Linked DNA regions of Homo sapiens: all the other regions are linked to region 2. The links are contacts of gene promoters, found by promoter capture Hi-C in blood cells and fetal thymus (Javierre and others, 2016). All regions are on one chromosome and are shown on one strand. Each heading gives the region's core, a stretch centred on a gene start or on the middle of the fragment in contact. The rest is flanking DNA. Distances are from core to core; before and after follow the strand shown. Region 1 has its middle 6.5 kb from the start of CDCA7. Region 2 holds the start of MAP3K20 (mitogen-activated protein kinase kinase kinase 20). Region 3 overlaps CDCA7 (cell division cycle associated 7).

Region 1 (3,122 bases), core at 208-2,707, 270 kb before region 2:
ACAAGCAGAATAGCACAGAAATTAACTTAAGGTGGAAAAGATGGAGGAAAGAGGCAAGGGTGGGTCCTTTGATTCTATTATTAATGCTTTCTTCTTTTCTTTTTCTTTTTTTTTTTTTAAAAAAAGGCTGGGTCTTGCTATGTTGCCCAGGCTGGAGTGCAGTGGTGTGATCATAGCACATTACAGCCTCCAACTTCTGGCCTCAAGTGATCCTCCCACTTCAGCCTCCCACATAGCTGGGACTATGGGTGTACATAACTGCACCCAGCTATCATTAATGCTGTTAAATTAAGTTTAGCCTAAAGCCGCCTCCTTACATATTTTAAGTTCAGCCTAAAGCTTCTCCATACACAATGAACTGTAACCCAACTGGGTATATAAACAGACTAACTTACTCTTGTACCAACCACCATGTTTTGGCCAGTCAAGGGTGACCAACTGTTCAAGCTGTGTTCAAATAAGGCAAACCCTGAGCTGTAACCAATCCAGCTGTTGGTGTAATTCACTTCTGTTTTCTGTACCTCACTTTTTCTGTCCATAAATCTTTTTCCACCATGCAGCTGCTCTGGAGCCTCTCTGAACCTACTCTGGTTCAGGGGATCCCCGATTTGCAAACATTCTTTGCTCCATTAAACTGCTAAATTTAATTTGTCTAAGGTCAGTGCTTTAACAATGCTTTCTTGAAAAATAAAAACCATGGGAAGCAAATATGGCAAATTGTTAAATGTGACAAATGCCAGTGATTAGTACATGGGTGTCTTTTACATGTTTACTTTCTGTGCTTTTTTTTTTCTTTTTTTTTTTTAATCTGAAACATTTAATAATTTTAAAATATTTAAGTTTTGGAGAGTTTGTTCTGACAATCAATATCAATATATTTATTGTGTTAAATATACAGTTCCTTTACAGGGTCCTATAAATAGGAATGCAAGTTTGTCATGCAATTTTAGATGCCTCATAAAGGTTTTAAGTCACTGTATTAATCACACACTGGTAAATATTTTCATTTTAAATGAAAGACACAAAATGAATAAGCATGGAAAATCAGTGTCCAGGGAAAGATGATGGCACAGGCCACAGCAAAAGGTAAAAGGAAATGACATTTTATAAGTACATACTTACACAGACACTACTTGATATGAGGGCTGTTAATACAACAGGTACTCAGTAAATACTTATTATATTTATAAGTATTATTTGTATAATTTAATTTAATTATTTTTTAAGTTCCAGGGTAAATGTGCAGGATGTGATGTGCAGGTTTGTTACACAGGAAAATCTGTGCCATGGGTGGTTTGCTGCACCTAGCAACCCATCACCTAAGTATTAAGTCCTGCATGCATTAGCTATTTTTCCAACTAAAGTGGTTGTAGGTGGAATTTTATTTTATTTTTACATTTTTTCTTTTTTGAGACAGGGTCTCACTCTCACTCAGGCTGGAGTGCAGTGCTCAAGCCATGGCTCACTGCAGCCTCAACTTCCTGCGCTCCAGCAATCCACCTACATCAGCCTCCCAAGTAGCTGGGGCCACAGATGTAGGCCACCACATCTGGCTAATTTTTCTATTTTTTGTAGAGATGGGGGTTTCGTCATGTTGCTCAGACTGGTCTCGAACTCCTGGGCTCAAGCAATCCGCCTGCCCTGGCCCCTCAAAGTGCTGGGATTACAAGCATGAGCCACCATCCCCAGCCCTGGAATTTTAAATCTTCAAAATATTCTAAAATATCAATCTCTTGTTAAAGAGCTTTGAATTCCCTGGGCTACTACAAACCCTAAGAATTCTGTGTTTCTCTATACCTTTTATTCACCTTGCACAAAGAATTCCATTTCCTATTATTAAGTTTGAAACTTGACTGTGAGGTTCAGAGCACTTACATAATGAGGTAAGTTAAACTTCAACTCAGAATGACTGGTTTTCGGACAAAGAATGCAACCGCTAATAGCATGTATCATTTTTAGATGAGATTTAGAAACAATGCTAATGTTTCATGTGCTGCTCTCGGTCCCATGCACCCATCTCTCAGGCGGTATAACATGAACCCAAGCGCCCCTGTAAACCAGAGACCTTCAATAGACCAGATACCCCTGGAGACAAAGGGCTGGAGCAATTTCACTGTGTTTGTGGATATAGACAGTTTGCAGTCTGTCAGGTCACAAATCTCTGTTTTAAATAACCCCTAATTACAGATTTACGTCTCCAGTGCCTGCTTTCAGGATGCATAAAGGCAATATAGCTAAAAGGCCTAACGTTAGGCTTCAATTGTCAAAAGCTGCTCTGTTGGAGGGCCCAGCCCATTATCACCCTGGCTGTTTGGTTCACAAATGCTGGCTCTCCAAGCCATATTGGTATGTTTGTTTTGCATTGTATGTCAACACTGTTTTAAGTAGATCAGTTTGCTGACATCTGACACCTGATTAGAAAAAGGAATATGGAAAAATGAGTGCAAATCTGACCTTTTTTTGGCAAGAAGAAATATTTGTTTTTCCGTGGATGAACATTGTCTATTGTGAAATATATTAACTGCTAGTGTTAAAACATCATTAAACACTTTGCACAAGGGAAAGTCAAGCTTTGATTACTGAATCAGTCAGTTCCAACACTATGGAAGCTGAATTACAGCCAAAACCTAACTCAGCTTACTTCTTACCATCCACAGTTTCCCTGTCACTTGTTCACCTTTCCATAATTTCTTTTTTCCATTTGGCAAAGTTTTTGTCTGTTTTTATGTAAGAATTTTTCATTGTTTTTAATTTGATCATTTTTTTCTCTGGAAACACCCATAAAAGGTGTTAAATGTCTTTGTTCATCACTTAGGCAACTTATTCTAAATTGTCCTAGTTGTGAATTATATAAATCATTTATGTCTTCTTCAGATCTGTTCCTTTCAAGCAACTCTTTGGAAAGAGAATTGCTGCAGAGAGAAGAACTTTATTAACTAAATGGAGACTTAGGGCTCATTTGTAGGTGGTTTAATTTCTGAAGTAAACCAATGCAAGATATTGGTAGGGGGTCCCAGGGAAGAGGCTAATCTGCACATTGTCCTATCAACCTAGAATTCAAAATTAGTCCCCCAGCAGGCCTCAAAAGTTAAACACAGGGCCAGGCCCAGTGGCTCACGCCT
Region 2 (3,149 bases), core at 80-2,579:
AGTTTTCAACAATCTTAAGTCAAACATCCTCAAATTCACTCTGTAAGACGATTCTCACACACCAGTATCGAGAGCTGCTTACTGTACCATACTTGGAATGGGCCCCTAAATTGTGTTGCTTTCATTATTACAGAAACTAACAAAAATAGTAATTAAGTTCCCCATAAACAGTACTTATGCGCGATCTCAAAGCGCATCAGAAACATAACATTTTCAGCGATCTAACAGAGATAACTTTTTAAAAAAATTTTTTAGGCAATCGGATGTCATCTAGCCAGTCCTGAATTAAAGTTTTCTGAAAGCTGTCATGGGCAAGCGAGGCCAGACGAGGCGACGGCCTGGGTAAGCACTTCTGGGCCTGGTGCAGGTCTGGGAGCCCACAAAAAGCCGCTGCCTGAGGGTCGCCAAAGGAGACATCCCCGGCTCCGGTGGGAGGAAAGGGGGAAGCCCGAGAGGGCGGGCGCTTCATGCTGCCCAAGCCCGGGGCAGGAAGGGCGGGGAGCGGTGGCTCTGGATACATTTACGCATGTTTTTAAAACTAATCTTTAGTGTTCATTGTTCCTGCTGGTTATTCGCATGGCCTAATTGTGTGAGGAAAACAGAATGAAGGAAAATGGATGGGAAGCAACACCGCTCGCGGTCGAGTTCTTAGAAAAGCAGAAGTTCGTCGTCCCTCCTCGCACGCACAGCGAGTGCTGGGAAGTGGCCTGCACCCTACCCTGATTTGGGGGCCTCGCGGTTCGCCTCCCGACAGTGCCCCAGTCACCCGCTGCTTGGCCGGCTCTGCTGCTCGCGGAGCCCCTGCCCGTGCCGCACGCCCGGGACCGCGAAAGCCGGGGCCGCTCCGGCCTGCGCCCGCGCCTCCAGGCGCCAACTTCTCCATGGGACCGGCCCGAACTCTCCCGAACCGCACTTGGCGGCGCCGCGGCCAAGGTCCCGCGAGGACTTCCCGGGCGCCGCGAACGCTCGCTCGCTCGCCCGCCCGCTCGCTCCGGCCGCCGCCGCCGGGCGGGCCCTGGGTCGGGGAGGGGAGCCCCGAGGAGCCTCCCGAGGCCGCCTAGACTCCCGGGCTCCGGCGGAGCCTCGGCCCCGAGACGCAGGGACGACTCGCGAGCGCGGCGGGCCTCGCCCCCTCCCTCCCCGCCCTCCGCGGGCTCCAGCCTGACCCCTACCTGGCTCCCGGGCGGGGCGTGAGCAGCAGCCGGGGGCGCGGAGGCCCCGCGCGCGACGAGGGCGGCGGGGGTTGGGACGACAGCGGCCCGCGCGGCTCCCACGTTTCCGCTGCAGTTAGGAGTTGAACATTCCGCCTCTCTGCACGGCGCCAATGAGGAAGACAGTCACGGCAACAGCACCACCTACCTCCCGGCGCGAAACGGCTGGGCCGCCCTCCCCTCACACGCGCGGGCGAGCGGGGCGTGGGGAAGGCGCTCGGGCCTCCCTGGCCTGCGCCCGGGGGGCACCATCCGCCCCGCGCCCCGGCACCCGCCGAGGCCCCCAGACACACCTGCCTTGCTGTGGGGGGAGGGCCGTGGGGGTGTTCCCCCTCGCCCCCAGCACCTTAACTCATCTTTTTGACAAATTAACACCACCTGCTACTCCTTCAACTCAGTCTTCAACAAACAGGCGCTGGGGACGCAAAGAAATAGAGGCTGTTTTGTGCCCCGCAAGAGTTAATTCTCTAGTTGGGAAAGGCACAAACGTAGAGATTTCTGGGAACATAGGTCTGAAGGCTGCCTCTCTAGAAAGATCAGTAGGTACCTCTGGAATTTTGAGGAGGGGCCGTGGTCTGCTGCTCTAGTTGCTAATTTTAACAGAGCAGAATTCAGAAGAGGAGCCAGAGTCCGTTACAGGCCTAAGCCAAAGGTGGAGGTGGGCGTTGGGAAGAAAAGAAATTTCTGATTGGGGAGGATGGTTCTGTGAAGGAAAAGTGAGAGGAGGTTGCAAGGGCATGGGCAACATTATTCAGGATTTTGAATTTGAATTTTATTATCCATGGACACTGGGAGCTGTGAAAAATTAGAATCAAAGGGGTGAAATGGGGGTTTGTGATTCTGTTTAAATGGTAATTTTGAGAGAGTAGTCCACAGTAGTTGTAGGTTGGGTTGCTAGGATGGAACCAGGATGAGTAGTAGATATTGTCACCACCCGGTTGTGGGATCATGAGGACCTGAGTTAGGATGTAGGAAATGGAATTAAAAAGAAGAAATGGGCTGGGCATGGTACCTGTAATCCCAGCACTTTGGGAGGCCAAGCTGAGAGGATTGCTTGAGACCTGGCTGGGTAACACAGTGAGACCTCATCTCCAAAAAAATCAGAAAATTAGCCTGATGTGGTGGCATACATCTATAGTCCCAGCTACTCGGGAGGCTGAGGTGGGAGAATCGCTTGAGCTGGGGAAGTCGAGGCTAAAGTGAACCACAGTCGCGCCACTGCACTCCAGCCTGGATGAAAGTGAGACTCTGTCTCAAAAAAAAAAAAAAAAAAAAAAAAAAAAAAAAAAGAAGAAATGGAATTGAGAGAAATATTAAACGTTTCAGCAAGAGGCCACAGAAATTGGTAACCCACAAGATTTAGAAGAGAAGAAGAAGAGAGATGATGCCAAGATCTCAGACCTGGATGACTGGAAGAATGATGGTGTCATTGACAAAAATAGGAATACGTGAAAGGGAAGCTGGCTTCATGTTGAGTTTGAGGTCATAGGAGTAAAAACAGGTAGAGATGCAGCAACTGAAATATGAAACTGAAATTCAGGAAAGAGGTCAAGAGTGAAATAGAAAATTTGTAAGTCATTCAATAGGTTAAAGATATGAAAGTTGAGGGATGAATGAGTAGAGGTTAAAAAACAATTTATTAGTCTGATTAATTTGCCCTTTGATAAGGACTGGAGATTTTAGCATTAATAAATTTTATTTTGGTAACTGAGAAATTAGAATTGATGAAAATTGCCATGCTAAAAAAATGTATAATGCAGGTCTAATAAAATAATTCAAATAATTCCATCCTATCCATTCAAGGAAAAACTAAGGCTCTTTAGCATAGACCCCAGGCATAGGAAGACTCCAGTCATTTTACCTTACCTTCAGAGGCACTTGTTTGTTTTGGAAAGGACCCTAGACTGAGAGTCAGAGAACCTGACTTCTGGTCTTAGA
Region 3 (3,164 bases), core at 665-3,164, 290 kb before region 2:
AGGCAGGAGGATCCCTTGAGCCCAGGAGTTTGAAACCAGCCTGAGCAACATAGCAAGACCTGTCTCTACAAAAAATAAAAAAAGAATTGGGCTATGAGAGCTTTTAGACCATGCCTTTTTTGTTGATTCTCACAGTCCTGGAACAAGCCTCAAGGCACAGCATGCATTTAATATATGTTTGAATGGTTGATAAAAGTAAGCCAGGTATTGCAAAGCACATCATAAAGGAAAAGAAAACACTACAAAACTTCATGGGCACATATTGTTTTCTATCAGGCACTGTGGTTGTCTCCGCCCGTTTTCTGATCACAGGTATTAGTCCTGTCACCTAGTGAGGTCCTTTCAAACAAGCTGACCTTAGAACTTCAGAAACTTCAGTCAAAAGGGAGACTTTTTTAGAAAAGGTGGAAATGGCCTTTTATTTAAATATGAGGAAAAAATTAGAATTAAGTACAGTAAGATTATTTTTAAAAAAGCAGACAAGTTAGAACAAACATTTTATTATTAAAATAAACTTTTGTATAAAAGCATTACAGATCAAAAGCTGTATTTACACTTATCGATTCAAGGTCCAATTATGCATCAAACATTGAATGGCACAGCAATGGTTTACATATGCAAGTAAATTGGACATACAAACACTTAGATTCCACCTCTACCAAATACCTTGATTAATGCAAAGAGGAGGGGGAATACTGACACAGGAAACCTGCCCAGAAACTAGACTGGCAGAGATGTCAGGTTAACAAACTGCTAAAAGTTACATCTCCAAAAAGGCACTTATCATTGTTATAAAAGTGCTTAAAATCTAAACTTGAACCTTGTGCCTGGTTTATAAATTTACAAGAAACTGCAAAGAACCACAGACTAGTTTTTAATATCAAGTTTCCATACAAAATTGTCCAAGAATTTATTTGCAATACCTTACATGTGAACTGAAATAAACTTTGCAAACTACAATTATACTAAAGTTTTATACTGAAAATTCAAATCAGCTTACTCATAATCTCCAGATAGCTCTTCCATCATTATTTTAATTAAGTATTACATTGCCCACCAACCTTTGAATTATGATTGTGTAAGCTGGACGCACCACTTACCCTTCGGGCAGAAGAAATTAGGAGAAATTAAGTCTCAACTGTGACAACAACTTGTAACATAAGCGCAATACATGGGATTGAGAGACATCAATCTGCAATAATTACCTAATTTTTCCACATGGTTTTAAGACTTTTGTGCCTTGATTCTATTAAAAATTTCAACTAGTATGAATGCTAAATCATACTCGTTTTTGTGTAAACAAGTTAGAAGGCTCTTCTCTGAAATTCAATAGATCTAGTTAGTTAATACTATTATTGTGTTTCCAAGTGCTTAGGTTTTATGAGGGCTATTTCAACACCAAGTAAATAAAATATGCTTTCATAAAACTGTAATTTAAAAGAAATTCAGAAACTAAGCGGTTGGAGAGGAGCATTGGAAATAGAGGGGGATGCTGTGAGATGGGGGTTGGGAGCAGAGAAGAAACTGCAGGAGGGCAAAGTGTAACTAGCAATATACCTTCTGTGATGCTCCAGAAACACATGTCTGCTAAGATTAACTTGATTGGAGTTTCTTATGAAACAGGCTGATCATCAAGATTTTTAACTCAGGTTTCAGTGAAAAAATTGGAAACTTTTACAAGAAAGATTTGAGAAGTAGAAGGCAGGCAGCAAATTTTCCAGATATTATGCTTGCATTTCAAATTCCTGTTTCAGGCTGTGAAAAACAAAAGGAAATGTGTCAGGACATAGTTTTCAACCAAAGAATTCTCTTTTGAAAGCCTAATTCATTTTTAAAACCATTTTTATTGAGTTATAACATCACTATGGTCAAGTGTGCGCATCTTCAAGTATATTACCTGACTTTTTCATACACACCCACCCACCCGGGTTACCACCACCTAAGTGAAGACAGAAAATGTTCCCATCCCTTCCAGTGTGCCCCGTTCCAGTCAGTCTCCACCCCGCCAGAGATAACCACTCTTCTGACATCTATCATCTTCTCATTAAGACATAAATGAATATAAAATTCAGATGTGGAAGGGAAAAAAAAACACCCACTACCTTTTCAAGTAGGCATGCACATTCCCAAAGCCATGATATTTGGCTAAATACACAAGGACCCCAGTCGCACACCGTCCATCTCGCTGCCGGCAGAAACTGCAGTTGCAGATTCCTCGACAAGGCGGGCAATGCCAGTTCTGAAGGAGGATTGTCAAACGGCACAATTAAGTTAAACCTTACCTCCCCCACCAACTTATCTACATTACATTTAACCCCTTCTTTATGGTTAAAAATTTATATGATTAATAGGCATTAGTCATGCCTAATGTTTCCTAATGCCTAATGCTTCCTTCCAGGAGTGGAAGTTACAAGCAGCTACCAGGGATAAATGGAGCAGCAACTTCCCAGGGACAGTTCAGACCCGAGTATCGTAGAAGCGGCTCATGCCTATGCAGCACCATCCCTCTGAATTCATTTGTGTTCTGAATTAAGAGCACCCTGGGCCGGGCGTGGTGGCTCACACCTGTAATCCCAGCACTTCAGGAGGCCGAGGCGGGTGGATCACGAGGTCAAGAGATCTTGTACCACCACACCATCCTGGCCAATGTGGTGAAACCCCGTCTCTACTAAAAATACAAAAATTAGCTAGGTGTGGTGGCGCGTGCCTGTAGTCCCAGCTACTTGGGAGGCTGAGGCAGGAGAATCGCTTGAACCCAGGAGGAGGAGGTTGCAGTGAGCTGAGATCGCGCCACTGCACTGCAGCCTGGCGACAGAATGAGACTCCATCTTAAAAAAAAAGAAGAGCACCCCATAACAGAAAGGGCTCCACCCCTTCACCAATGCCTTTTTCTGGCCTCATCACAGTTTGTGGCTGACCTTCAAGCCCACAGGACCAACCCCTGGCAGGCACCTACCGGATCCAGCAGAGCATCCCTGACCTCTTCACCATAACGGTTTCGAAGGCAGGGGCCACAGAACTGGCCTCGAACGCCCCAGCAGTCTGGGTTTCTGCAGTTTGTTTTGGTATCAATAGTCTTCTGACGGCATTGATGACAAGTAGAGCCCTACAAATAAGCCATTAAGAAAAAAAACAAAAAAAACCACTGTTTTTCAACAGAGGAA

What was found. The method cuts DNA at HindIII sites, captures the fragments that hold promoters and counts their contacts. A CHiCAGO score of 5 or more calls a contact.
Region 1: a contact is called between a fragment that was not itself captured here and the fragment with the promoter of MAP3K20 in region 2, in 1 of 17 cell types (neutrophils). The highest score is 5.2, in neutrophils.
Region 3: a fragment that was not itself captured here is called in contact with the fragment with the promoter of MAP3K20 in region 2 in 1 of 17 cell types (neutrophils); the score reaches 5.3 in neutrophils.

Annotation. Positions count from the first base shown.
Region 1 is chr2:173,346,817-173,349,938 of GRCh38, reverse strand. No RefSeq gene overlaps it. Among named protein-coding and RNA genes, the nearest start is that of CDCA7, 6.5 kb to the left of the region's middle. The HindIII fragment of the contact is 2,231 bases long and covers 342-2,572 here.
Region 2 is chr2:173,074,026-173,077,174 of GRCh38, reverse strand. It overlaps MAP3K20 (mitogen-activated protein kinase kinase kinase 20), which reads right to left and starts at 1,329. Exons shown (of 20, transcript NM_016653.3): 1 at 1,173-1,329. RefSeq lists silencers at 765-1,504, 1,585-1,634. The HindIII fragment of the contact is 14,354 bases long and covers 1-3,149 here.
Region 3 is chr2:173,366,225-173,369,388 of GRCh38, reverse strand. It overlaps CDCA7 (cell division cycle associated 7), which reads right to left. Exons shown (of 10, transcript NM_031942.5): 8 at 2,957-3,106; 9 at 2,103-2,239; 10 at 392-1,755. The coding sequence ends at 1,725. Among named protein-coding and RNA genes, the nearest start is that of CDCA7, 13 kb to the right of the region's middle. The HindIII fragment of the contact is 4,671 bases long and covers 1-3,164 here.